Regions from separate parts of the Homo sapiens genome. Here all the other regions are linked to region 2. Evidence: promoter capture Hi-C in 16 types of primary human blood cells and fetal thymus (Javierre and others, 2016). All regions are on one chromosome and are shown on one strand. The core of a region is centred on a gene start or on the middle of the fragment in contact, and the rest is flanking DNA. Distances in the headings are between cores, read along the strand shown. Region 1 overlaps ZBTB20 (zinc finger and BTB domain containing 20). Region 2 holds the start of ZBTB20 (zinc finger and BTB domain containing 20). Region 3 overlaps DRD3 (dopamine receptor D3). Region 4 overlaps ZBTB20 (zinc finger and BTB domain containing 20). Region 5 overlaps LSAMP (limbic system associated membrane protein). Region 6 overlaps ZBTB20 (zinc finger and BTB domain containing 20). Region 7 overlaps LSAMP (limbic system associated membrane protein).

Region 1 (3,872 bases), core at 380-2,879, 650 kb before region 2:
AAATACCTTGGAGTGAAGAGTCAGTGAAGCAAGATATAATGTTGTGAATAAGGAACAGAGCTCACCAGAGAGTGAGAAGCAGCCAGAGGATACCGATAATTATTTATCACATTAGGTGACTATCACTACCTGTAGGATCTTTTGGGTGGTGTCTCTTATAAGTGACTTTGATTATTTGGGTTCATTGGCCTAGAATCTTTTTCAAGCAGTTCAAAATAAAATTTATTTAAACCCATTCAGTGCAGCCTGGTTTGAATTTTAAATAATGAACGTTCTCTTTTTTTTCATATAAAATCGTGTTTTTTTTTCCCCCCGAATACCTTTCCATCTTTTCTAAAAAAGAGTGGTACCTTTATAAACCTTCTGGCACACGTGAATCTGGGATTTCTTTTTTTCCCCTGTAGACTTCATAATTTTGCACAAAAGTTTAGTCTATTTATTTTACAGTCTTGTACTTCTTAGTAAAGGGATATTAGAAATTTTGTCAATAAATGAAAGCTCTGATCTAGAAGTTAAAATTAAAAACTATTGGACCTAGGGATGGGTACATAACTGAAGAATACATAATTGCCCAATGATTGACAGGGGAGCAAAAGCCCAACTGTTGCTGGTATTTGGCTGAATAATGTAAGCTATACTTTAAAAGAGCAGTGACTTTTGCAAACAGCAGCTGCAGCCAAGTAAAGGGCAGCCTTTATAGAAGTACAGTATCTGGGCCACTGGTATTTTCTGCACCCTCATGGATAGCAACTTAGTATTACCACCAACAGCATACACTCCAAACGCAAAAGAAACTAATACACACTACAGAAGCACTAGAAACCACAACAAAGTCAACTAGGAAATATGCCAGTGAAAACCACAATTTCCTAAATCTGACACTTTTTTTTTTAAAGGTAAAGAAATCACTTTTACTTACGTAAAGAGAAGGGGCAGGTCACAGACTGATGGTCAAAGATCTGAAAATCAAAGAAAAAATAAGGAATTAAAAGCAAACCGATATATGATGCAAAACCAATATATAAAAGCAAAATGATACAGTGGGAAGAAAGAAAGCAAATCTAGGCATAGATGGGACTGGTTGTTCCTAAAGGAGCCTATTTTGTCACTTCTAGCCTCAAAATAAAGGAGACCCAGCTTCATAAAAACTTTCTAAAGGTATGACCCCCTGCTATGATGACCAAGACAGTACTTCCCAGCACAAGGAGTGCAAAGACCTTTCTTTGTTCATTTCATTCTAATCTGTATCATATAGGATTTGGTAGAGCTATGTTACCATTTAACAAAATAGCCACTAGCCACATTTGTCTATTTAAATTTAAATTATTTAACATTTAATAAAAAGCTAAACATTTAGTTCCTCAGTCTTGCCAGCTTCATTTCAAGTGCTCAATACCCACATGTGGCTGGTGACTGCCTTACTGGATAGCACAGATAGAAAATGTTTCTATTATTGTAGAAACTTCTATTGGGCAGCACTGACTAGAATAGGTAAAAGCTTTACTATACAGTACATGACCAATTTTAGCTAATTTTGACAAAGATGAGTCAAACCCTGATAAACTTTGTCTCTTTTAAGGTATATTTAGTATGTTTAATGTCCAGAAGTTCCTCTGAACAAATTCAATACATTCGTGTGTAGCTAAGAACTCAGTCCTAAGTTTGCCCCGGACTTGCCTTCTAAAACTGCCTCTACCCCTTCTCACCAGCCTAGAATGTCCCCTCTATGGTGGAAAATAATCTGATAAAGTGATTTTAAACAAAGCTTCTCTCCCACCAAACACAACTCTGTTTGGTGATGAAAATTTCAGATGAAATGATGAAAATTTTAGATTTTGGAGAAGCTGACCCTAACAGTGTTCTTGTTCTATGTTTAAAATCTGATATTTCACTCTTTAAATTACAAGCCAGGCTAGGCGCGGTGGCTCACGCCTGTAAATCCCAGCACTTTGGGAGGCCAAGGTGGGTGGATCACTTGAGGTCAGGAGTTCGAGACCAGCCTGGCCAAAATGGTGGAACCCTGTTTCTACTAAAACTACAAAAATTAGCCAGGCATGGTGGCGGGCGCCTGTAATCCCAGCTACTTGGGAGGCCGAGGCAGGAGAATTGCTTGAACCTGGGAGGCGGAGGTTGCAGTGAGCCCACATCACGCCACTGCACTCCAGCCTGGGTGACAAGAGCAAAACTCCGTCAAAAAAAAAAAAATCACAGGCCAAAAAAAAAAAAAACTATTATAGGACTGGTCTGCCCATCATTGTGCTTTGTTTTTTTTTCTTTCTTTTTTTTTTTTTTTTGAGATGAACTCTCCCTCTGTCACCCAGGCTGGAGTGCAGTGGCACGATCTTGGCTCACTGCAACCTCTGCCTCCTGAGTTTAAGCGATTCTCCTGCTTCAGCCTCCTGAGTAGCTGGGACTACAGGCACGCACCACCACACCCAGCTAATTTTTGTAGTTTTAGTAGAAATGGGGTTTGCCATATTGGCCAGGCTGGTCTCAAACTCCTGAACTCAGGTGATCCACCCACCTTGGCCTCCCAAAGTGCTGGAATTACAAGTGTGAGCCACCGTGCCCAGACCCATCAGTGTTTTGATAGCTTCTCTTAGAAGGATAAAACTGAAGTAGGAGGAGAGCCATGACAAATTAATAAACCAAAAAAAGATACTGAGAAAACAAAGCAGGTCCCCCTACCTCTAGCCCACTTAAATATATCAAGAATTTAATACAGGGTGATTCAATCTTGCCTCTCTGACACCATGATTTTAACAACTTCACATAAGGCCTCCAGAAATATGCAAAACAAACTTCACTAAAGGAGATCAAGTAGAAGGACCTGATTAAGTATCTTTGCATTGAAAAGGCTAAAGCAGAAAACCAGCAATTAAAGACATCACCCTTCCTGGAAAGTTTCTGGGACAACTGCACTATTGTAGAGATTTCTTCAAAGAAATGATTTCCCTTTGTGGTCAATGTGAAACCTTGCTCAAGTACATGCAGGTGTACTTGATGCAGGATGGTGACAAGACGAGTTAAGATGAAAATCTCCAGCCTGGATTATTATAATGCTAATACAAGAGAGGCTGGAGATCTCCAATGCTTTCAAATTGTTTCACAAAATTCATGAGTTTAATGAAAATTTTAGGCAAGAGAATTAGATTATGTATGATTCATTGAAAGCACATACAAATTTGAAATATATATATAACACTGACTAGTCTTCAAAGATTTTAAAGCTCTAAGTTTTGCTATATTCTAGTCTTCTCTGCAAGCCAGGATATTAGACTATGGCACAGGGGCATATTTTCTTACCATTTTCCTCCCTCCCTCTCTCCTTTCTTCCTTCCCTCCCTCCCTCCCTCCTTTCTTACATTCCTCTCTCTCTATTTCTCTTTCTTTCTTTCCCTCTCCTTTTTTGAACTTGCTGTCTTCTCTAACCTTGGGGAGAAGAAGAAAATATTATTAGCAATTTTCTATGAAATATGTTCAATGATCATTTTTCTGTTGCATGTTATAAACCCAATAACTCTCAACAATATTATGCTCTTCTAAAATTATACCTAGTGTTTATGTTCTTATATCTAAACACATAACTTTCTTTTCTAAATTTCAAGGTGCATTTATTCATAAAATTAGTTAAAATTAAATTTTTGATGTGATCAAAAGAGATCAATGTAAGTTGTACCCAAATTGACTAACACATCCAATGTCTGGAATGAAAAACTATCTTTCCTGGATGTCAAATGACACACAGGATGGCTGTCAATGATAGGAATCCAAAATGGAGAGAAAAATTACAGTGTGTATGTCACAGTCTAAAACAAATTAAAGCCAAGTTAGATGGAAGTTTTATTGGATATAATTGTTGTACTTATATG
Region 2 (3,576 bases), core at 1,054-3,553:
TTCTTCTCACCTGTTTACTTCAACACCATGTGTCCCCAAACCTAAGGCCCTCCAAAATTGAGCTCCATAAAAATCAAAACCCCAATCTTGAAAATTAAGCCTTGAGTACTGAACAGTTACATCAGCAATTCCTCAAGGGCAATTTCAAAAGCTTTCCTGGGAGACTACTGGAAAGATGGCACAGGGATATCACCATGCACTATGTGTGCAACAACTTTGATATATTCTAAGAATCACAAAGAACAAAGGCATGAAAATCAATGTAATTTTTTTTCTTTCACTAGAAAAATACAGATTCTTCATTTTAAAGCAAAAAAGCAAAAAGTAGCCACATCTTGACTGGACAAACTTACAGTTGACCCTCAGTATCCATGGGAGATTGGTTCTGGGACCTCTCTAGGAAACCAAAATCCACAGATGCTCAAGTCCCTTACATAAAATAGTGTAGTATTTGCATTTAACCTAATCACATTCTCCCACATACTTTAAATCATCTCTAGGTTACTTATAACACCTAATACAAGTAAATGCCATGTATTAATAAATCGTTGTTACACTGTATTGTTTAGGGAATTGTGGCAAGAAAAAAACTATATATATTCTATTCCATCTATTCCCCCACACCCAAAATATTTTTGATCTGCAGCTGGTTAAATCCACAGATGCAGAACCCAGGCACAGGAAGGGCTGACTGTATGTGACCGGGAGTGGAGGGGGATCTATATAAATATTTCCACAAAATAGCAAAGGGTACTTGGGATTGGGAGCATGAACAGAAATGAAAACAAACCATTATAAATTTAAAGATGACTGGTTATCACTTAAATTTAGTGTCTACAGCTATTTATTTATAAAATGGTAATTGTGTTTTAAAACTTTCAATGGCAACAAGTTACAACAGTAACTTCAGAATAGCGTTCACTTGAAAACATTGGGTGAATGGCCTCTATAATTTTTTTAGCTGAAATGTATACACCGCCACGCAGTGAGGAAACTTGACTTTAGCACCCTTTTGGTATTTTTAATAGAAAAAACAGTGGAGAAGATTTTCACATGTCTAGAAAGGTAACATGTTCAACTTAGGTTTGGCCAATGCTGATTCTGAGGACAGTACTACACCCGCAAGCTTCCAAACTACTTCCTGATTCATTCAGATTTTCATTGGAGAGCTGTCATCCTGCTACTGACCTCATTCAACCCAGTTCGGAGTGAGAGATCAGCGGATTACCGCGCTAGGTACCGTAGCTGTACGCCATATTGTGTTTTTCGCTAATGTTTAGTTTGTGTGTGTGCCTAGCATATGTTTGTGCAAGTGTGTTTATCAATAGAACTTTTAGAAAATCCCTGCCTCCTGCCTCTTCAGCATCCTTAAAAAGGATAACAGCTGGGGGCGGGGGGTGGGGGGAGGACCCAAAAGCCACACAGACAGGAATACATTAAACAGTGTACGAGAGACGGCATTTGTTTTAAACTTTCAAGAACCTTCCAACCATTTTTATATCAGGAATCAAAAAGTGTTAACATGTTTTAATGTTTCCGAAGTGGCCCAAAGAAGAGAAAGAAGGAAAGGTGTGTCTTCCCTTCCCAAGCCCCCTCCTCTCTAGTCGTAGAAGCGAAGCAGGCGGGGGCCGGGAGCTCCGGCGTCTGGAGAGACATCCAGCGGCTGTGGGGCCAGGACACCTCCTGCCCCCCAGTTCTCTGAAGACGCTCCAGAGACCGCGAGAGCCACGGCAAGCGGGGGAGGGCGAGGAGGGAGGGGGCAGAAGACAAGCGGGCGCCTCTAGCAGCTCCTGAGCCCCGGCTAGTCCCCCTCAGCTCCTCTTCTTGGAAGCAGCGGCTCCAGGCGCAGGGAGTAGAGAGAAGAAGGCAGAAGACACGTTTCCAGCTGCGGGACGTCCCGCCCGCCCCGCCACCCTTCGACCCTCCCGCGCCTCCCTCCCACCTCCCCGCCGGGTCGGGCGAGGCAGCCGCCGGGCGCTAAGAAGGGCGCCGGGGGAGGGGGCGCGGGCGGGGCGGGGCGGGGCGGGGCGCGGGGGCGCGCGCGCTCATCCAGCTCAGGGCCCGCTGGCTCGCCGCTCTGTAACTCGCTCCCCCAACCCCACCCCGCTCCCCTCCTTCCCAGTCCCGCCGCCCCCCACTCCAGGCGCCTCGCAGACGCCTCATCCCCCTCGGCACGCACACACTCCTCCCTCTCTCCCGCCCGTCCCACAACAAATTAGAGTTTGTGGCATTACCTCCTCGCGCTCTTTAATCTTCTTTCCTCAACTCCTAAACTTCCCCCCGCCCCTACTTCTTCGGCAGAAGGCCCACATTGGACGCTTCACTCCGCGAACCCTCTATCTCTCCCCGCTATAGGATAGCTCTCACGCCAATCTTGGCTTCAGTGAGCCAATGAGAATGGGACGCCCCTCGTGAGGTTGCCGCCCATAAACAAAATGCACTCTTCCTTCTCCCCTCCGCCCCCCCGTCCCCGCCCCTTTCTTCCTCTTCCCTCATCTCTGTCACCTTCGATTGGGCTAAAAGAGGCCCAATCCGCTATCTCAAACATCCATTGGGACGCGGAAACTTCGCTCAGAGAAGTATTAACAGGCGATTGGTGGACAATCCTTCCACTTCGCCCACCCCCACAACCCCCTCCCCCCGCCGCACCTTCACCCTTTCTGAAAAGGTCAATCGTATCTCGTTGTTCAGTGATCCGGGAGGTGGAAGGCTATTGGTTCAGGGAGCCCGTCAGACCGGACTGGAGTGAGCCATGATTGGTCGACACAGGCGCAATCAGGTTAGGTTGCTTACTCCTCCGCTCCTCCCTCCTTTTCCTCCACGCCCCATCTCCCCCACCCCCTACTGCTTTTACTTTCTACGCATTTCTATTTCCTCCTTTATTTATTTATTTGTGATAAACTTAAATGACCCGGCGACGGAGGCGGTACTCTAGGAGAAGGCTGAGGATGACGAGCGGCGGCCTGGGGCCAATTGCCGAGAGGGCTGCGGGGTGAGGGGCAGCGGCGGTGGCCAGTGAGAGGCAGGTGTCTGGAGCGCGCTGGGCCTGTGGAGCCGGGATGCCCCAGCGGAGGCGGCGGTTACCCGCTGTCTGGCGCGGCGAGCTGCGCCGGGGGAGCCGCGGGAGCGGAGAGGGGGGTGTCGCTGTCTTGGACAGCTGAGGCAGCGGGATGGAGGCTGGATCCCGGGCGGTGGGTGGGAAAGCCGGAGGGAGGGTCTGGCTGGCGGCAGCGCGCAAGGCCGCACCGGGTCACGCTTGATTCCCGCGGAATGGGGCGCAGGTTGCCAGACCGGGTCCCCAGTGCTAGGGCTCAAGGAAGAATTTGTTCATGCAGAAGATTTAGAAAAATACTATGTAAAAGAGTTTGGAGTAAGCCTCCCTTAATATAAATGAGATTTATTATCCTGCCGGAAAAAGCAGATTATGTTTCTTATTACTGAACGCCTGAAGTACCAACGACTCAACCAGAGCCCACAGAATTCAATATCCTGGGTGGTAAAAGGAACAAATAAAGCAACACGGAAAATTAAGTGTGGTTCAAATGCTTCAATAAAATCTTCGTCCTCAACCATTTG
Region 3 (3,929 bases), core at 880-3,379, 990 kb before region 2:
TGAACCCAGCTTTTCCAAGGCCTGTTTTCATTTCTAGAATAGGAGGGGGCTCCATTTTGAGGCTTGGTGAGAATTCATTGGCCCATATAGAACTATGAGCCAAGAAGGGAGCTTCGTTTTCGCTTGGGATCTAAGGCATGGCTGGTCCCTTCAGGTAGGTAAGTGCTGTGTATTCTCGGAGTTTTCCTATATGGGACAGAAGCCAATTCAAAGTTACTCTTGTTGGTTGCGTTTTAAGTGGTAAAAACTAGAGGTGTGTTTTAGGCATGGCTGCTGGCCGCAAAATGGTGCTCTTGTGCAAATTAAAGAAAGGCGCCCTCTCCTGGCTGGCAAATCGTAGAAAAGCACCCTCTTCTGGCCAACTCTAGGCTTGGAAAAGGGAGTGATAGCTGAATTTCATTTCCACACCCTTGCGCAGGGAACAACCTGCACAACCTCACCCACAGCCCTAAGTGCATAAGAATATAGGTGGGTGGAGTGTATAGGCACACTCTCAAGAGGGAAGAGAGGAGGCTCAGGAACTACGAGGGCTGAGGGGGCTCTCTTTACACAGTTCTCCCTCTTCACAAAGCGAACCCTCTCCCATTCTCTGACGTCCTTTCCGAAAGCCTCCTCCCAAAAGTCAAAAGCCTCCTCCCTTTCCTCCTTGGAGTTCTCTCCCTCCCACTTCCCCTTCCGCCTCTTCTCCTTCTCCCAATAATATCATCCATCCATCTCATAGCTCCAGCAGGTGACCCAAATAAGATCTGCCATTTATTGAGAATTTATCACATTGTGCTAAGCTTTGACACACATTAACTCATTTCATCTTCACAATTCTTAGGTACTGTTGTTATCTTCAATTTCCAACTTCTTAGAGTATTTAAGGAATTTGCCAAAGCCACACCATTAGTACTGGGCGGTGCCAGGATTAGAATTCATGTCTATTTGACTCCAAGTTAGTAATCTTAAACTTTGTGCTAACCTCCCTAAATCTCCAACTACATCCCTGCCTTCTCCCCTGAGTTCCAGATCACATTACTTCCTGGATAGTCCACTTGTTCCTATTATGCCAGATGTTAAAAACCAAACCATTAAAGCACCAAATCGTCTCGACATGGTGATCTCTTCTTGACAGCATCTTTCTCCTGGAATCTTGTGTTCTGTTTGACTCCTTTCTCTTCCTAATCTTTCATATTCAAGAGGTTGGTGTTTACAGACCTTTTGCCGTTTTTTTTTTCAAAATTTCCCCTACTTTTCCTTTCTTGTTTCCTCCTATTTATTTTAGGATCCTATGATCCCTTACCTGAAATTCTGCTGCACTTTCTAACTGGTCCTTCATAGCACTATCAAAATCATTCCCTTAGAAGTAAAGCCTTACTCAAAATCCCTCAGTGCCTCCTTGGCCTATTGAATAAAAGTTAGAATTACCTCCACTGCCTGGCATTCAATGTTTTCCACAATATGGCTTGCCTGTCTTTCTTTCTTTCTTTCTTTCTTTCTTTTTCTTTCTTTCTTTCTTTCTTTCTTTCTTTCTTTCTTTCTTTCTTTCTTTCTTTCTCTTTTCTTTTTCTTTCTTTTTTCTTTCTTTCTTTCCTTTCTTTCTTTTCTTTCTTTCTTCCTTTCTTTCTTTTTCTTTCTCTTTCTTTTCTTCTCTTTTCTTCCTTCCTTCTTTCCTTCCTTCCTTCCTTCTCTTTCTTTCTTTCTTCCTTTCTTCTTTCCTTCCTTCCTTCCTTCTTTCTTTCTTCCTTTCTTTCTCTCTCTCTCTCTCTTTCTTTCTTTCTTTCTTTTTTTCTTTCTCTCCTTTTTTTTTCTTTCTTTCTTGTTGTTTTGAGTCAGACTCTTGCTCTGTTGCCCAGGCTGGAGTGCAATGGTGCAGTCTCAGCTCACTGCAAACTCCACCTCCCGGGTTCAAGCGGTTCTCCAGCCTCTGCCTCCTGAGTAGCTGGAATTACAGGCACCCACCACCATGTCCGGCTAATTTTTGCATTTTTAGTAGAGATGGGTTTTCATCATATTGGCCAGCCTGGTCTCGAACTCCTGACCTCAAACGATCCTCTTGCCTCGGCCTCCCAAATTGCTGGGATTACAGGAGTAAGCCACCGTGCCTGGCCTCAATCCCCCTTTTCAATTTCATCTCTTCCCAGGTTGCCCCATACCCTTCTCATGCTCCAAAGTCTATCACAATGATCCTCTTTTCCATAAAGCCCTTTCACATTCCCACAGTCTGATTCAGTCACCCTTGAACTTCACAATGCTTTCTCTGTCACTATGTTGTGGCATCTCCAGCCTGCTTTTTCTAGAGGTCATAGCACAGGCCCCCTCAATTGGCCCAGTGTTGTGCCCTCTGTAGCAACAGCCTCACATTTCCTTTTACATGCTGAAGTGGGAATTTTGAACAATAACCAAAAAAATGAATATGAACACACTTTGCTCTGGTGATCCTGCAAACCAATCAGCTAATTGGATGATTTTTTATTTATATCACTTGGTTGGCTAGCCAACTGAGAAGAAAGCTAAAGAACATGTCCACAATGCTGAAAATAATACCATTAAAGAGTGTGTTTAAAAAAGAGGGGTAGGCCAGGCACAGTGGCTCACACGTGTAATCCCAGCACTTTGGGAGTTTGAGGCGGGTGGATCACCTGAGGTTGGGAGTTCGAGACCAGCCTGACCAACATGGAGAAACCTCATCTCTACTAAAAATGCAAAATTAGCCAGATGTGGTGGCTCATGCCTGTAATCCCAGCTATTTGGGAGGCTGAGGCAGAAGAATCACTTGAACCCGGGAGGTGGAGGTTACAGTGAGCCAAGATCGTGCCATTGCACTCCAGCCTGGACAACAAAAGTGAAACTCCATCTCAAAAAAAGAAAAAAGAAAAAAAGAGGGGTCCAGATGCAGTAGTATGTGCCAGTAATCCCAGCTACTTGGGAGGCTAAGATGGGAGGGTTGCTTGAGTCCAGGAGTTTGAGACCAGCCTGGACAACATAGCAGGACCTCATCTCTGCAAAAAAGAAAAAAAAAAAAAGGAATATAATTGCATAAGTCTGTAAACATACCAATATAACATTGAATTACACACTTTGAGTGGATGAATTGTGTGGTATGTGAGTTATATCTTCATAAAGCTGTTTTAAAAAGTGAAGAGTTGGGGATTTTAGAATATTTTTAGCTCTAATATCTAAGTCTTTTGTGTAATTTCTAGACATTTAGTACACATTTTCAGGAGTGCATTATTTGCAGACATAGAGGACTGCAGCTGGTTTGCTTTATTATCATTACCCCAAACTCTTCTACAAGACCTAGCTCCTGATCACCTGTGACCTTCCCTGCTGTGCCCATTACAGAGTCTTGAACAAAGAGTATTCAGCTGAATTCAGTGGTCCCTGTTTGAAGGTAGCCAATGTTTATACCATAAAATAACAGTACCTAAGATAATACATAAGATAATAACAGTACCTAAGAATTGTGAAGATGAAATGAGTTAATGTGTGTCAAAGCTTAGCACAATGTGATAAATTCTCAATAAATGGCAGATCTTATTTGGGGTCACCTGTTGGAGCTATGAGGTGGATGGATGATATTACTGGGAGAAGGAGAAGAAGCGGAATGGAAAGTGGGAGGGAGAGAACTCAGAGCAGGAATGGGAGGAGGCTTTTGACTGGCAGCAAGGGCCATAGGCTTGAAAGTGACCTCCTTTCCCCCAGGGCTCTCAGTGAGGCTGGTGATGTCCCAGGGGAGCCAGGCAAATCTCAGGCTCAGGCAGAGGAAAGGGGAAAGAAGAGAGGAAGACAAAAGGAGAGGGGAAGGGAGAAACAGAGGGACCCAGAGCAAGGGTGGTGAGTCCAGGTGCTCTCAGGGATAGAAAGCAATGTTACTCAGGCAGAACACACAGAGAGAGGAGTCAAAATCACAGCAATTCACCCCAGCAACCAAAATGTAATTTTAA
Region 4 (3,937 bases), core at 331-2,830, 740 kb before region 2:
GTAACATGAAACAGTGGACTAGACTAGTTCAAACCAAAGAATGTTTTAGGGCACACCCACTTTGAGGACCAGCACCTGGCTATGCTACATGCTCTTCAATTGTTTAGGCATATAAAAAGGAGTGATGAGATGGTTATATGTCAAAATGGCTGTTCTCCCTCCAAACAGGATTTGATTGGCTTATTTGCTTTTGGAGTACTCTCCAAATCCATAAACAAAGGAGTATTGAATTGAAGAAGCAAACAGGAGAAAGAAAAAGGCTAAAAAGGAAAAGAGAGAAGAAGAGGAAGGAAAAATACTAATTTCTCAGTATTCCTATCTGCAAATCTGGCTGGATTTGATAACAAAACTCCTACTACTGTTCTCTAATGGTCTTTGCTGCATGCCATATGGACATGGCTTCTAAAGGGGATGAATTCTAGGTTTTCCTCACAAATATCCAAGCACAGAACAGCAGGGATCTTGACGACTAAATCATCCTAACTCACGACGAGGATCACAGAGGTGGAACATGGCTGTTGGGACTAGATTCTTCTGCTTATTTCATGTGCTTTGTGAATTAAATTGTTCGTAGAGTTGGAAAGCTGGTGGACTAAATGTTTTAATAAAAACAGCCATGAGACACAACAGTTTTCTTCACAAAGGCTTTCCCCCCTAGCTACTGTGAATATATTGCTGAATGGTTCTGACTTCTGGAAGGGCAGGAGGTTTGCCTCTTCTCTTTGCCTCAAAAACCAGGCTTATTCTATGCATCTGGGAGATGATTATACTTACCCGAAATTTCAGGATACTATGTCAGACAGTTCCTTCACAGTGGTGTGTCTGGCACCTAAGCAAGGACTTGGTGGGCCAGACACATTTAAAATGTAAAAGTGGATGATTATATTATTTTGCATTGTAACAATGAGAGTATTTCTGGATTGTAGCTGACGTGTAGATCATCATAACCATATGTGGCACAACAAACCACACAACATTGCATCAGAAGCTTGTAGTTAATATTTTTAAATGATTGATTATTTTGAAATAGAGAAATGGTGGATGCTTTTTTCGACCTCTTTAAATAACCACTTATTGAATGTCTATTGTCAGTGATGGACTCTTTCTTCACAGAAGGGAGCTGGGCTATGCCAGACTCTCACCATGTTCTTTCTCCTCTAACACTGAACAAAATATCAGTAAAACACCAAGTACAGCTGGTTTTGAACCTAGTAAGAAATCAGTCTGTAGTAATGGGCCATATTGGTAATAATTGGAACTGGTGATATCGATAGCAGTGGGAATAACTGACTTACAAAGGCACAGCAGTTCAGGAACGTCTCAGGGACTCAGAGTGGGTAAATGCGTAAATCTGCTCTCACCTATTTATATGCTCCAACAAATATCTGGAACTCTAGAAACTTCAAGAGTCTAATATGATCAGGCCACGTTTATAGGTATTATAGGATTCATATAAAATAAGGAGGCATACATGTTGATCTAGTGAGCGTCTCCATATTTGTACAACACTCAGGATATGTCTGAGAACACATTTTAATTTTTAGAATCAGCTATAGAATCTGGCAGTTATTATAAAGCAAACTTCACTTCAAAAAAATTAACTGAGAAGCCAGATGATAATCCAGATATACAAAACAACATTGGTGGGATAAGTCAAATAATTCTCTAAAATGATTATGGAGAAACTGAAGAAATGAAGGGCACCTATTTATCATATGTGGGTCCCCAGCCACGTTTGTAATCTGTTGTGTGACCTTGGGCAAGTCATGAAACTTCTCTCGAGTCTCATTTTTCTCATATATAATGTGGGAGTGTTAGATTAGATGGTTTTTAAGATTCTTTCCAGTAATAACATTTGATGATTCTAAAGTAAGAAGAGATGAAAGAGTAATTCCTCTTTCCTCTTGTTTTGGTAAATACTTGCTTTCTCCTGCTCCGTGCCTATGCAGTTTGCAGTGAGTATTAGGTTTCTGGACTCAAGAAGTCAAATAGTAAATACTGAAGCTATTTTTCCTTGTACACATGGACAAATCATAGGGGAATAATCCTTCCTTTCTTTGTATATCAGTGTCTCTTCTCAAATCAGACTTATGCCTAAGGTAATCACGATCATTCTGGTACTAATAAAGATTTTTCCTCATCCTTCCCACAAGGCCCTCACCCATGCTCATGAAAGCTTATGTGATTGGGTTATTTCTATATTTATGTCTTGGCTATTTTTTCTCTTTCAACTTGTTTATGAAGTCCCTGGTAAGCATAAAGCTGCAAAAACAAAAACAAACAAATAAAACAAAACAGCTCTGTTTGAATAATTTACTTCAGTTGAAGCAGTATAAGAAAACATCCTAACGCCGAGGGGAAGAAAACAGGTCATAAAAATACCCTGGTATCTTAGAAAAGACTAAATAAAAGCTTATATCAATAATAGTTTCATATGTTATTGTCTTTCATTTTCAAAGAGAATGGTACATATTGGCTTTATAGTCTGGTGTACAGACGTGGCTATTTTTCCCCATAGCTCTCAGGTCAGTGCATCCTCAAAGCCAAGAAGGCCCAGAGCCTGCCGAGCTAGCTTTACATAAACAAAGGAGCTACACAGAAAACCCAATACCCGGAGCTTATATCATATCCTGACTAGGCACTCTGGTTACCCATGACTCGCTCTTTTCCATCTGTGCCCTGATTCTCTGCTGGTTTAATTCCCTTCACCTAGAATGCCCTCAGTTTGCCTCCTTTTACTGCTCAGAATTCCCTCTGGACACAACTCACGACTAGCATAAGCCCCATTTCCAAGAAGCAGCTTAGTTTGACCCAACTTAGTTTGACCCAGCGAAAATTTTCATGGATAGCAAGTGAAAATTAGTCCTTGTGATAACTGGAGTCACTGAAACCAGGTATCTAGGAAGCACTCAGAGAATACCAGAGAAAAACTTTCAAGGGTTGCAGTGTCCTCATAGGAGGAAAAAAAAAATCCTAGCTTTAAGAACAAGCCCAATATAGAAGCTGTGGTATGTAAGAGAAAAGTTGTAGCCATGTACGGGAGGAATTGTGTTAAAACAGTCTGACTTTTTTTTTCCAATAAAGGAGAAGAGATCCTCTGTTTCTTAAAAGAAGTTTAGTCATTGGATATAGCAACATACAGTGTCATAAAGTTTAATTGCATTAATTATGAAGCTAAAATGTCTACATTTTAGTAGAGAGAACATGGGGCATAGCTAAATGGCGAAGACATAGGAATGTGTATACAATTTGAGTTTCACTTCCTCCAAATCTCTCAGTTAGAGGATCCCTCTCAGTCTGACGGTCTTATCATCAACAGCTTCACAAACTCTGACAACACCTGGCTGGGTTTAAGGGATGGGCCATGATATATCTTGAGAGTAAAAGATGGAATGAAACTCAGAAATGCTGAATGCTTTTATATATGTATACAATTTTATTTATGTGTATATTTATATATCAATATATACAAACATATATATTTGTATGATGTTTGGCAACCTCACTCATGGTATTCCTGTGAAGTAGGCATGTGGTAAACATAATTAGCCCATTAAACAGATGGTAGGGCTCTGGCATATCTCACCATATTCTAAAATGGTGGAGCTGTAAGCAGGGACTAAAGAGAGTGTAGTTTGATACATGGCTAACTGCAAATCTCTGTGAATTGCTACTTTCCTAAAGACAATCTGGGTAGGCTGCATTTGGCTGAGAACTGGGGATAGTTTAGGAAGCTTTAAAAATATACAAAGGGACAACTTTTCACATTCATTCAGATATAGTATCTTCATTTTTACTTACTAGAGGCATTTTTTTTTAAAAAACAGCTTTTTATCTTAACTCATCTGTGTTCCAAGCAAACTTCCAAATTGCTGAGCAGATTAAAAAAAAAAACCCTACATGCCAAGTAGAAACACTGGGTAAATGTTATTTTTTA
Region 5 (3,959 bases), core at 1,170-3,669, 680 kb after region 2:
AGTGGATCCCTGTGAGTTAAGTTCTTTCTGGATTCTAGACCTTTGCAGGTAGTGGGTTGTCGTTCTCTTCCCCTGCTTCTTCTCTTTCTGTCTTTTATTTTTATTTTTATTTTTATTTTTATTTGAGACAGAGTCTCGATCTGTCACCCAGGCTGGAGTGCAGTGGCGCAATCTTGGCTCACTGCAAGCTCTGCCTCCTGGGTTCACATCATTCTCTTGCCTCAGCCTCCTGAGTAGCTGGGACTACAGGCACCTGCCACCACGCCCGGCTAATTTTTTGTATTTTTTAGTAGAGACGGGGTTTCACCGTGTTAGCCAGGATGGTCTCAACCTCCTGAACTTGTGATTCAGCCTCCCAAAGTGCTGGGATTACAGGCATGAGCCACCACGCCTGGCCTGTTTCTGTCTTTTAAACTTCACTTTCACCTGGAAGTCTTCCCCCATTAGCCCAGACTAGCTAATGTGCCCTGGTTTGTTCTCCCCAAACACCTACCAGTTATCTTCACATGGACTTAAAGTTTACTGTGGTTGCTTAGTTCATTAAGTACTTCTCCATTTGGTCTGTAAACCCTCTTAGTGCAGAGGCTGTACCTGCTTCATTCTCCTTTGTCATCCCCAAAACCCGGCTCAGAGCAAATACTAAGATATTTCTTTGAGTAAATGAATGGTGTCGTCAAGATATTGTGCATGTCAAATTAACTTAACCTGTGCCAAAAAATGAGTTTTTAACTGCCTATCAAGAATGTAACCTCTTTCTTGTGTTCCTAATGATTAGAAATCATAATGAAAAGAAAACGTGACCTCTAAAAGAAACTCTACAAAGCAAAGGCAAGAGCAAGTGGAGAGTACATCTAAATACAGAAAAAAAATCATACTATTTACGAGTTAGAATGGGAAGGTTGATCTCCCAACGGAAGACCAGCCTCCAATTAATGGGATCATTCCGTCTTTTTTTTTTTTTTTTTTTTAAGCACTGCTGCACTTAACAGCTGTCAGCGATAAACTTACCTGTGTTCTGGAACTTCAAGGGAGAAAAATAAAACAAATTTCCCAAGTTACTCTAGCTTGCAATTCAACAGAGAAGTGCAAGTTACTGCTTGGTTTCATTTTGTTTGCTTTGTTTTGTTTCTAGCTATTTCTGCTCTCCAAATATCCCCAGCTTCCAACTCATACAAAACCCACACGTATAGTTGAAAAACCACTGTAGGATGGCCAAGCAAGTTTCCAACATAAAACATGGCTGGGAATGCTTGCTGCTGTGTGAGCTAAGGAGCATGGGATGGTAAACAGAATGGACACTTGGCCAAGGCACGGTTATTTTCTACTGCTTTTTTTTTTTTTTTTCTACAGGATGCTACTATTGCCTCCAAATGTCTTTTTAGGCTTTTTAGGCAGTTAAAAAGGTCATACTGAGATTCCGAGGTTTAGAAGGTGGGTGCTTAAGTCAGAATCTTTATTGCGAGTATGGGGCAGATAAAAAGTAGAATGAACTATTAGCTGTGATTGATAGTAAAGAGACTATGTCAGTGGTAATGTCTGGGTGCTAATCATAGGTATGTGTTACAGAGATGTGGGAAGCATTTTCTTTTACAATCAGCACAGTGATAAGCGAAACTATAGAGTAAACTATGGCAGTGCTTGGCTCCCCAGGGTCCAATTAGGAAGCATGATAAATGACTTGTAAGGTCTCTTCCCCACTGATCTGTGGTGGATATAAGCTGACATTCTCCGTGGAGTCCTAGTGAGTAGTCTGCCTACTCCCATCATACATCTCAGTACATAGGAACACCTTAAATTGGAATTCCAAACTCATTATGCCATGCTGTGTTCTTACTTGGCAGGTGTGTTTCTTCACAGCAGTATACAAGGGGAGGTGTAAGGTGGGATCTCTCATACTGATTTTTTCCCCATCAAGGTGCTTTTTTAGTTTAATACCTACAAATAACTTGTGATGATGAAAGAATATCATGAGGCTGCAATGACTGTATAAGGGAAATTGTTAACTAAGCTTAATTTGTATCTTGCCTCTTCAGAAGTCAAAGCTTTCTCCAGATAGGTGGGATAAGGGCTTGGTGGTGCTTGCATGGCTAGTAACCAGTGTTTAGAAGTGAATGTCAATACTATCAAAACCTTTTCTTTGGTTTTGTCTGAAAGATGTCAAAGAGAACATGCATACGTAATGCCTGGTAAATATGGTGGAAAATGTAGAGAAAGGAGCCAAGGAACAGGTTAAAATTAAGGTTCATACTTTTTGGGTTATCATAAGACATTTGTCAGGGGCTGGTACTATCTCGATGATTTAATACTTGGGAGAGTTTTTTTTGCTGTTGTTTTTTGTTTGTTTGTTTATTTGTTTCCTCTATGTACTACCACTTTTTAAAAAGGACTCTCACTCCATACAGTCTCTGAACCCAGAACTAAGTTCCCAAAGGAAGGACTTCCTTCCTGTCTAAACACAACAATGTTTCTCACAGTCGACTGCTATGCCCATGTTAACTGGCACATGAGGCAGACTCGAGAGCAAGCAGTGCTGCCGTGCACTCTAAAGACCAGAGGAGCCTGTGTCAGTTTTCTGTCCATCAAGATCCTGGTCTTCTCACCCTTTGGGGCAGCATGCCAACATTTTCTGCTGCAAAATTTCATTGAGCTCCTCTTAGGCAGCTTTATTCCTTTTAATTAAAAAGACAAGACTGCCAATTACTTAAACCTAATCCCCAAATGTAACTGTTACTTTGAAAATTTTTTTTTCTATAAAGCTCATAGAAGAGCAATATTTCTATCAAATTAAAATTTAGTGGAAGCTTGGATTTTTGTTAAAAAAAATATTCATTTTCAAATCCCTGCTGGCTCTAGACATCTAAATAGCACAGCAAGGCATTAAGGACAGGGAGCTCACCAGGAAAGGCTGACTGGTGCAGGCAGATCCAGATTCGAAAACCAGGAAGAGGCATTAGAAAGGAGTTCTAGGCACTAGAAAGGACTAAACATTCTCCTATCTTTAAATTGACTCTGTAGGATTTTTAGTCATTTAGCTTGAAGCTAAATGTAAATTTTGAGAGAAATAACACTTCCAAGCCCTTGTTGAACATTTAAATAATGGTGTGAATAAATTTTGGATTTATTCTTGCTAGCAACTTTTAGCAGGGGAGAGAACAACAGTTTAGGAAACAGAGTAGAAGGAAGAGTAAAGAGGTGGGGGAGATAAGACACAGAAATGGGGAGAAAACCTCCCTATTACACTGTGTCAAAATCATTGGATTGATGAGTGAACCATTGATTCCACATGAAATATTGGTACAATTATCCCGCTTGAGTCTCTAACCACTAAAGAAAATCAGAAGGAAATCAGACTATTGTTCCCATAAACGAGCCAGGGAATTAGGTATGAAGGTCAACTCAATAATTTTCATGTGTATTAATCAGAGCCAATCATTTTGTTGTAAATTGGTGCTGACATGTCTGCCTAAATTCTATTTGTAGTAACAAAGTCCTTGTTTCTGCTAACCAGTGGGAAGGAGAGACATATTTAAAAAGGGAAATCTTTCCTAGGACATACTTTATACCCTTGACCAGCAAAAAGGGCAGGTCCTTTAGGCTGATGGGTTGGCAGTCATGTGGTACTGTGTATGAAGGGCATCCGCTGAAAGTGTGTGAGTGTATATGTGTGTGCCACACAACCAGGAACTGTGTGCAATTTTGCAGCTCTTCTTAAATGTAATATTATGATATTGGTAAGAAAATAATGAAAAATATTTTTTATTTGGCCTTAGGATGCTTCTACATTAAAACTTCAGCAGTGTGGGGATTTCAGAAATCTTTAGAATCCATAATACATCAAAATATAATAAGAATACATTGAACTTATATCTAGCTGATGTCCATGCAACATGATACCAGTATACCTGCAAATATCAGTGCTTTTAAAAATTATAAGACACATGTGTATCTGAATATGATTA
Region 6 (3,812 bases), core at 851-3,350, 770 kb before region 2:
GTGTTATGAAAAGAACGTGTTTTATGTAATTAATCAGCCCTTTAAGGCCAAATGGCATGTCACCTGGCTTTTAAATACACTCTAGCTTTGCAAACTTATAGATATTGGCTGAATGAAAATGGTGGCACATTACTTTTGGCTGCTTTAGAAGACCAAATGCAAAGAGCTCGCTCTGAAAGTAGAAAAGCCAGAACCCAGGGTAGAAGCACTACTCCAAGCACTGCAAAGACACCATCACCTTAGTGGTGTACTCACAATCAGATGACCCGGTGTGAGCGTGAGAGTTTGTCAGTGAATGTGTTGAGTGGATGAGGGCTGGGTCTGGAGACAAAACAGCTTCAAAGTTCAGGCAGGGAAGGCCCGGCTTGGCGCTGGATCCACCCGGCTGAGTAATCTCATTCTCCTCAGATGCCTTCTGGTTTTCAGCTGTCTTGGGTTTCTTCCTGAAAATAAACAAAGGGCCCTTTGAAGGAACTGACTGCATATTTGGGAAAAGGCATTTTTAGAATCTGTTAAAGATAACTTGATTTTTTTTTTCTGAAGGGGGATGGGAGGGAGTCCAGTATGTCCCTTGTTTTAAAACAAGCTGATTCTTGTTTTTTTTCCCTCCAGTAATGGCCTAACTGGGAACACATGAAAGCATATGGGCCAAGCAAACAGCACCACATTTGGACTCTGTTGGCTGCATAAAAAGACCCTGTCCCAGAACTTTAGACAGCTTGAGCTACGTATGGCTGACATTATCCAAGAAAGCATCCCTCTTCCCCCCTTAGGAGTTTTAACATGGTCTGGAAAAATACTAGTGGAAGTTTTACCGTTCTAGCATTTGTCAGGAAGCTTAGAGACAGGACTCGTGGAGTAATGGGAGGAGCACTGGACTGGGAGTCAGGAGACTTGAGCTACCGTACTAGCTGTGCCTCTAACTTGCTGTGTGGCCTTGGGCACCTCACTTCACCTCTCTGGGCTTCAGTTTCCTCATCTGTAAAATAAAGGGCTTGGATTAGAAGGCCTTAAAGGTTCCTTCCAACTTTAAATTTCTACTCATGGACTACATTAAGGAACATTCAACTTTCCTGCTCTTATTAAGATTTTATTTTAAATAAAATTTCAAATCACAATTTAAATTTGCAGCCTGTACGGATGAGGGGGTAGTGATGGGAGGTTTCTGTTAGAGTAGCAAGTGAAAAGTGAAAAGAAGAGCTTAGATTCTAGTAGCTAAAGAGGGAAGGTGTCATGCAGAGATTTTTCTACTCCAACTCTTTACTCATCCTACGCCTAAGATTTTTGATTTGGTGCATCGTCCTGGAGTTTAGGGTGTGATTGTGTGTTTGGGACATGAGGAAGAGAAGGGTGAAGGGAATTAGAAAGTAATTGTTACTAATTGTTATATGGGGTCAGGAATAGGAAGTAAAACAGCACAGCTATCAGTCAGCTCAGGTCTCCTCTCCCCAGGACAATGCAACTGATATGAAATTAACAAATACTTAGCTTATACTACACAGACCCTAGACCACAGCCAAACTGGTTTATTAGTAATAGTTCCTGAACATTTCTCCAATTCCCTTGGATTTGTGTCTTTTTCTATCATTATGTGGACATGACCAGAAAAAGCATTTATTTTATTTGTAGAAGACTATGTGTGGTACAGAATTTGTTGTAAGTAGATTTGTTTCCATGTTTCCCTTGTTTCTGTGAGCATGGTAATGTACTTGTTATGCAGAATATTTTGTATTTAAATTTGTTGTGCTGGGTAGTTAAATCTGCCCTCGCAGAATATGGTGTTATGATTAGTATGCTGTGTTTTCAGTCCAACAGGTTGTGAAATAAAATCTGTTTCTTCAGAGGGCAGGAGGCAGAGATGGCATGGCAAAGATTAGAATAGAGGTGAGGCTTTCAGACATCTTTTTCAGTATGGAGGAAGCCAATACAAGAGAAGCAACAAATTATAAGACCTTATCAATTGATTTTTGAATGGTGACTATGGGAGTAACCCCCAAATCTTGAGTGTCTACATGGACCCTGAAGGAGCTGGTATTCTGATTTTCAGTTTAAAGATGTAGCCAAGATCAAAGTTGCTAAAGCCCAACTCCTTTATTAAAACCAATGCTTTCTCTAAGGTCCATATCTCTATCACTGTTGTCTACCACCAGGTTGGAAACCTCAGGGTCACTATACACCTTCCTCTGCCTTAAAGCCAATTCATCAGTAAGTTCTTACAGTTCTGCTTCCTTCATATTTTTTCTCACATCTGTGTTTCCATTCCAATTTCACTGCAATCACCTACTGCTTTTTATCTAGCTGATTGTTTACTAACTGGCTCTCCAACCTCTTTCACTCCTCTAGTCCTGTTTCTTTGCATTCACTAAATCTAAGATGACTACATTAGCCTGACACTCAAGGTCAGTTCCGTATCTCTTCTAACTTTTCTCATGTGTCCTGTATATTGGCCATACTGTACCCTCAGATTTCTTGAATATCCTCCAGAACATCCTGGGAATCTACATTCTGGGCTCTACATCTTTGCTCAAGTTTTCTCTTACTTTGAATATCCCATATTTCATCTCTGCCCTGTTGAAATCATACTTATTATCCTTCATACTTATTAAATGGTGTCTTCATCTTATAACTGTCTTGATTCCTCTCTGCCAGGTAGGACTTCACTCCCCACAGTGAATTCCTCCCTAGGTCTTTCTCCGAAATGCCTAAGCTCTTTTTTTTCTTAATCTTATTTCACTCACTCAATTTTATTTCAATAATGGCTATTTATGTGCATATCCCTCTTGTGAGACTGTAAGCTCTCTGAAGGTAAGGAAATGTCTTAGTTATTTTAGTATTCCTAGTGTTCACCTATTCTTTTCTTCTTCCTTCTCTCCTGTCATTCATTCATTTACATATTCATTTTACAAATATTTATGATGTACCCATGATGTGCCAACATGGGCTAAAGAATAAAACAGGACTGGTTCCTTCCCTCCCAGAGTTTACTGCCTTGTCTATACTATTAAGCAATGTAGCTTAGACAAAGCTGTCATTCAATAATTGATTGTGGACAGAATGAAATGAAGCTGAAATTAAAGTGTATTTTAAGAACGGTCATAGTCTGAATCCCAATTAAGTTTCCTACTTTTTATGCAGCAAGGTAGCAAAACTACCTGACTGGCTGCTTTTGCTTTAAGTCTGTGAGGGGTATTTAATAAGAGCAGGACTATTTTGCTCAGTAAGGCTAGGCTGGCCCTCATGATTCATTTAAATATAGGGTCAAAACAGTAATGACATATGTCACCTAGCAGAAAAAAGTGTTTATTTTTGATATTCATAGACAGGGCCTAGGATACTTTCAGATGTGTGCTTCAGAAAATTAAGAAAGCTTTCTTTCAAACATAAGGACATAGCAAAACCACCAATATATTACTCTTTTATTTTTAACACTGCAAAAATTATATTGTTCTTCATATCAATGCCCTTGTTTCCTTCCCTAGATTCGCTCTTGTTTCCTACCTGACATCTTGTATCACACCCTCCTGTTGCCTCAGTGATCACTTTGGGAGAATATTGATAGCACAGAGGCATTGGAGCTACCTCTATAAACAGGAAATGTTAGCAACTCAACCTTTTTGGCTCACCCCCTTATTTGTCTTATATCACTTTACTTACCCTTATACCACTGGGCTGTTTCCCAACTGTCCAGATAATAGAGAACTGCTCACCATCCTCAGAAGCAATTCATGTCCTGTCTCACCCTCTCTAATGGTTCTTCGGACTCCTTTTTCCGGAGCTGAGAAACCCTAAAACATAGCACCCGTTTACGTCTA
Region 7 (3,433 bases), core at 336-2,835, 660 kb after region 2:
TATTTCCTAGGGTGACTCAGCAAGATATTTCTCGAGGATATAACATTTTTTATATTGCACAATTTCTTAGAATCCAGATGGCAAGCTTTCCCACTGCTTTTGTTGAATGGAAAATAAAAACTGAGTAATATTTTGCTCATCAAGGTTTAGGTCACTTCCTTGGAGCTATTTAAATAAGACATCTTAGATGGTGAGAAAGGAGTAAAAAGAAGATAGCTGGGAGTGGATACAGCAGACATATAGCCCTTAAAACCTTTCCCTCTATTTCCCTTGCTTTGGGGTCGGGTGAGACAACTACAGCAACAGTTGGGACAATCTCCACTTAGATCCTGAAAGACCAAAGAGGTGACTTGAGCAGGATATAAACCTTGAACTGTTCCTGTGGGTCTGCTTCCTTTGGCTAAGGCAACCTCATATTTGGAGCTTTAGTCGTAATTCTTCCGATTCTGAACTGTGAAACGTTTCAGTTTTTATTTATTTTTATTTGATTTTTTTTTCCTTAAGAATCATAGTAAACCTTAGCAGTAGTTGGGCACTGCATGAAAAATGAAGTTTACATAGTTTATATTATGTACATAAACTAGTGATTTACATTGATTTACACATGATTGGTGCCTAATTTATTAATCAGCACGCAGCATGTAAATGTGCTCAAAAGAAATCAAGGTTTAAAATAAGTTTTCCATAATATTCATAAACATTTTCGCTGGTGTAAATGTTAAACCTAAACCCAACGTTAACACCAGCTTCCTTGCCAAGAGAAAAGTGAGATGTACATGCTGGGTGAAAACAAATTCTTTCCTAAATTTTGGTTGGCGACATTTGAACAGCATAGCTACATGCAAATGAGAATAGTTTACTTCTTTTCTGCTAGTATGCACATAAATGTAAACTCCATTTTGCATTTAGTGAGATGTTTACAGATATTATGCCAACCATGATGGAAAATTTACATCACTGAGGCAAATGCAGTCTTTGGAGAAGAAATATTCTAAACATTTAAGCAAGGAGGAGGCTTCCTAAACTGCATTTTTGTTTCTTATCTCACCATTTTTGTGGTGTGTTTCACATTTGTCTTCAAAATATTAATAGTTTATGTAGGTAAGATATAGCACTGTACTTACATTTCTCTTAAAAAATGATATTGGTAACCAAGACTAAATGCAGGCTAAAAGTGTATGAGGATGAAAAGAAAAATGAGGACATGGTTAATCCCATTAAACATAGTCTATAAGCAAATTTCTTTTCGCCAAATAATTACAAAACGGAAAAAGTGGGGCTCTATGTCTTTCTACGTGAGCATAGATTTTCTTTCTAAACAACCAAATTCAGTACTTTTCTTCCTTTTAAGATCAAAACATTATTCTTAATTTGTCTTATAATACATACATTATTGTAAATATAGCATCTATAAAGATAAAAAATACACACACATATATATTATTGTTTTCCACAAATAATTCGAGCCCTGCAAAGAACAAAATGAAAAATTCAGGGAGAATAGCCAATAGAAACAGTGAAACCACAACCAACTCAGGGATGGAATCTGCGACTCTGGAGGATTCAAGAAGCTCACAACTTGGTAAAGTAATAACTCAAACAATTTCATGCTGAGGAGTTTAGCTTTTGTGTGCAAAGGAGGTAAGTCCATTTTTGGAGGAGAAACAGATTTTTGTTTGGTCCTCCAAGAACGTGAAAATCACGAGTACTTTTACAAGGTCTCTATAAGTAGCCCCAGTAGTCTGACTATGTAGTAAAAAAATGCCCATGGCAAGCGAGAAGTCTGTCTGACTTGGAAGAGAAGGCAAAGGTCAATGGGGCAGTCCTTCCTGAGAGAAAACCCATCTGCTTTTCTATAAGCCTTAGTTCTTTTAAGACATGGGGATTTCATGTCTCGAAACAAACAAGACTTTTTATCCAGCAAGGCAAAACCTTTGCTCAACAATTGCACAGAGCATAATTACAATTCTGCAGTTGTAAAGCCCTGGATAGTTCTCATTCTTCAGGAAGCACCCTGGGTCAAAGTCATTTCTGTTTTTGTTAACTGAAAGTTGGGTCTAAGGATTTCCTTTTACGAATGGTGGAGTTTTACTTTGTATACAAAGGATATTAAATATATTAGCCACTCAGATTAATTGATGAATTTCACTCCTCTCAGTATATTATTTCCAACCAGTTGGTGCTTTTCAGTGCGGGGTTTCAAACTTTGATTACCAAGGGACAAGATTCTTGAAGGAATTTATTCCAATATGATTAACTAAATTCCAAGAAGTCTTATGTTGAGATTCAATGATTTCTTGGTGTCAGTCCTCTGGCCCTACCTTTCCCTGACTTTTCTCTAAACTATATTTTCCTCCATTGTTCACACTGCTTAGGGAACACTTTCAATCCTATGAAATTTCTGGGGACAATGTTTTCTCTGAAACAGGAACCAGAAGCAAATTTTTAAAATTTCAAGATCCTGCTAGAGACACAGGCAAACACCACATTTAAATATATGTTTAATTATGTTTAATATATGGTCCATTATATTAAAACTGAGGGAACAAACGGTGCTGACATGGCAGACATTTATTTCAATGGAGAAGTTCCTCCCATGAAACCAAGACCTTGTCCTCATGATAAAGTGGAGACAATAAGAAAGCCAGGTATATAATTAAGGCCTGTGACATGCCATGGGGATCTGTTCCTGAAGGTAATACTAACATCCAACTTCTAACAACATCCAACTTAACTCCTACTTTTCTCTTCCTGTATATCTTTAAATTAGCATGCGCTTTTCTAAAGCCACACACTTAAGTGTGTGACTGCCTCTTCAATTTTTGGGGAATGCTTATTATTAAAGATGATACCCTTTATTCTTGAACTAAGAAGACCAAACTGTTAAGAGAAATACCTGATTGTCAATAAATTGATGCTGCATAGGAATATGGCTCACCTTCCCTATATTTTACTAGCTACCTTCTTGGATGAGAATTTGTTTTCTCTCCTATGTCAGAATCTGCTATAAACACTCTTAACCATCCCCAAGCTGAATTTTTCCTTGTATCAAGTCTAAACTGCAAAATCATGAAAGAAGGCTGTGATAAGCTTCTAAAACAAACAATAAAATCCCTTAGAAGAAATTGAAGAAATTAACAATGCTACTTAGATCTTTCTCCCTCCTGCCTTCCTTTCCTTTCTCCTTCCTTCCTTCCTTCCTTCCTTCCTCCCTCCCTCCCTCCCTCCCTCCCTCCCTCCCTCCCTCCCCCCCTTCCCCGTCCCCCCCTCCCTGCCTTCCTTCCTTCCTTCCTTCCTTCTTTCCTTTCTTTTTTTCCAGTTACAAAGTTTCTCATTTTATAACATGGAACAGCTATTTACAAGGTTCCAACTTAATGACATACCATATTTGGCTCTGCAAGATTACATTCAAATATAATCTCAAAATAATTCT

Evidence for each region. Contacts are between HindIII fragments. The CHiCAGO score rates a contact against its expected background, and 5 or more counts as called.
Region 1: a contact is called between a fragment that was not itself captured here and the fragment with the promoter of ZBTB20 in region 2, in 1 of 17 cell types (M2 macrophages). The highest score is 6.4, in M2 macrophages.
Region 3: a fragment that was not itself captured here is called in contact with the fragment with the promoter of ZBTB20 in region 2 in 1 of 17 cell types (naive CD8 T cells); the score reaches 6.4 in naive CD8 T cells.
Region 4: a fragment that was not itself captured here is called in contact with the fragment with the promoter of ZBTB20 in region 2 in 1 of 17 cell types (M2 macrophages); the score reaches 5.5 in M2 macrophages.
Region 5: a contact is called between a fragment that was not itself captured here and the fragment with the promoter of ZBTB20 in region 2, in 1 of 17 cell types (fetal thymus). The highest score is 5.4, in fetal thymus.
Region 6: a fragment that was not itself captured here is called in contact with the fragment with the promoter of ZBTB20 in region 2 in 3 of 17 cell types (M2 macrophages, M0 macrophages and naive CD8 T cells); the score reaches 10.7 in M2 macrophages.
Region 7: a contact is called between a fragment that was not itself captured here and the fragment with the promoter of ZBTB20 in region 2, in 7 of 17 cell types (naive CD8 T cells, activated CD4 T cells, M2 macrophages and 4 more). The highest score is 7.9, in naive CD8 T cells.

What each region holds. Positions count from the first base shown.
Region 1 is chr3:114,499,433-114,503,304 of GRCh38, forward strand. ZBTB20 (zinc finger and BTB domain containing 20) reads right to left here. Exons shown (of 12, transcript NM_001348800.3): 7 at 920-959. The region is part of intron 1 of ZBTB20-AS5 (ZBTB20 antisense RNA 5); the gene reads left to right. Among named protein-coding and RNA genes, the nearest start is that of ZBTB20-AS5, 48 kb to the left of the region's middle. The HindIII fragment of the contact is 267 bases long and covers 1,497-1,763 here.
Region 2 is chr3:115,144,985-115,148,560 of GRCh38, forward strand. It overlaps ZBTB20 (zinc finger and BTB domain containing 20), which reads right to left and starts at 2,304. Exons shown (of 12, transcript NM_001348800.3): 1 at 2,235-2,304. RefSeq lists enhancers at 980-1,089, 2,820-3,029 and silencers at 1,770-2,039, 2,350-2,519, 3,080-3,299. The HindIII fragment of the contact is 9,545 bases long and covers 1,125-3,576 here.
Region 3 is chr3:114,155,261-114,159,189 of GRCh38, forward strand. All of the region lies in intron 3 of DRD3 (dopamine receptor D3), which reads right to left. Among named protein-coding and RNA genes, the nearest start is that of DRD3, 22 kb to the right of the region's middle. RefSeq lists an enhancer at 1-57. The HindIII fragment of the contact is 2,698 bases long and covers 781-3,478 here.
Region 4 is chr3:114,402,128-114,406,064 of GRCh38, forward strand. All of the region lies in intron 7 of ZBTB20 (zinc finger and BTB domain containing 20), which reads right to left. Among named protein-coding and RNA genes, the nearest start is that of ZBTB20-AS5, 49 kb to the right of the region's middle. The HindIII fragment of the contact is 1,188 bases long and covers 987-2,174 here.
Region 5 is chr3:115,826,009-115,829,967 of GRCh38, forward strand. The region is part of intron 6 of LSAMP (limbic system associated membrane protein); the gene reads right to left. All of the region lies in intron 1 of LOC124906269 (a long non-coding RNA gene), which reads left to right. Among named protein-coding and RNA genes, the nearest start is that of SNORD155, 77 kb to the right of the region's middle. The HindIII fragment of the contact is 759 bases long and covers 2,041-2,799 here.
Region 6 is chr3:114,379,962-114,383,773 of GRCh38, forward strand. ZBTB20 (zinc finger and BTB domain containing 20) reads right to left here. Exons shown (of 12, transcript NM_001348800.3): 9 at 816-979; 10 at 256-443. The coding sequence starts at 826. All of the region lies in intron 7 of ZBTB20-AS1 (ZBTB20 antisense RNA 1), which reads left to right. Among named protein-coding and RNA genes, the nearest start is that of ZBTB20-AS1, 30 kb to the left of the region's middle. The HindIII fragment of the contact is 2,530 bases long and covers 836-3,365 here.
Region 7 is chr3:115,804,902-115,808,334 of GRCh38, forward strand. It overlaps LSAMP (limbic system associated membrane protein), which reads right to left. Exons shown (of 7, transcript NM_002338.5): 7 at 1-3,433. All of the region lies in intron 1 of LOC124906269 (a long non-coding RNA gene), which reads left to right. Among named protein-coding and RNA genes, the nearest start is that of SNORD155, 99 kb to the right of the region's middle. The HindIII fragment of the contact is 3,005 bases long and covers 84-3,088 here.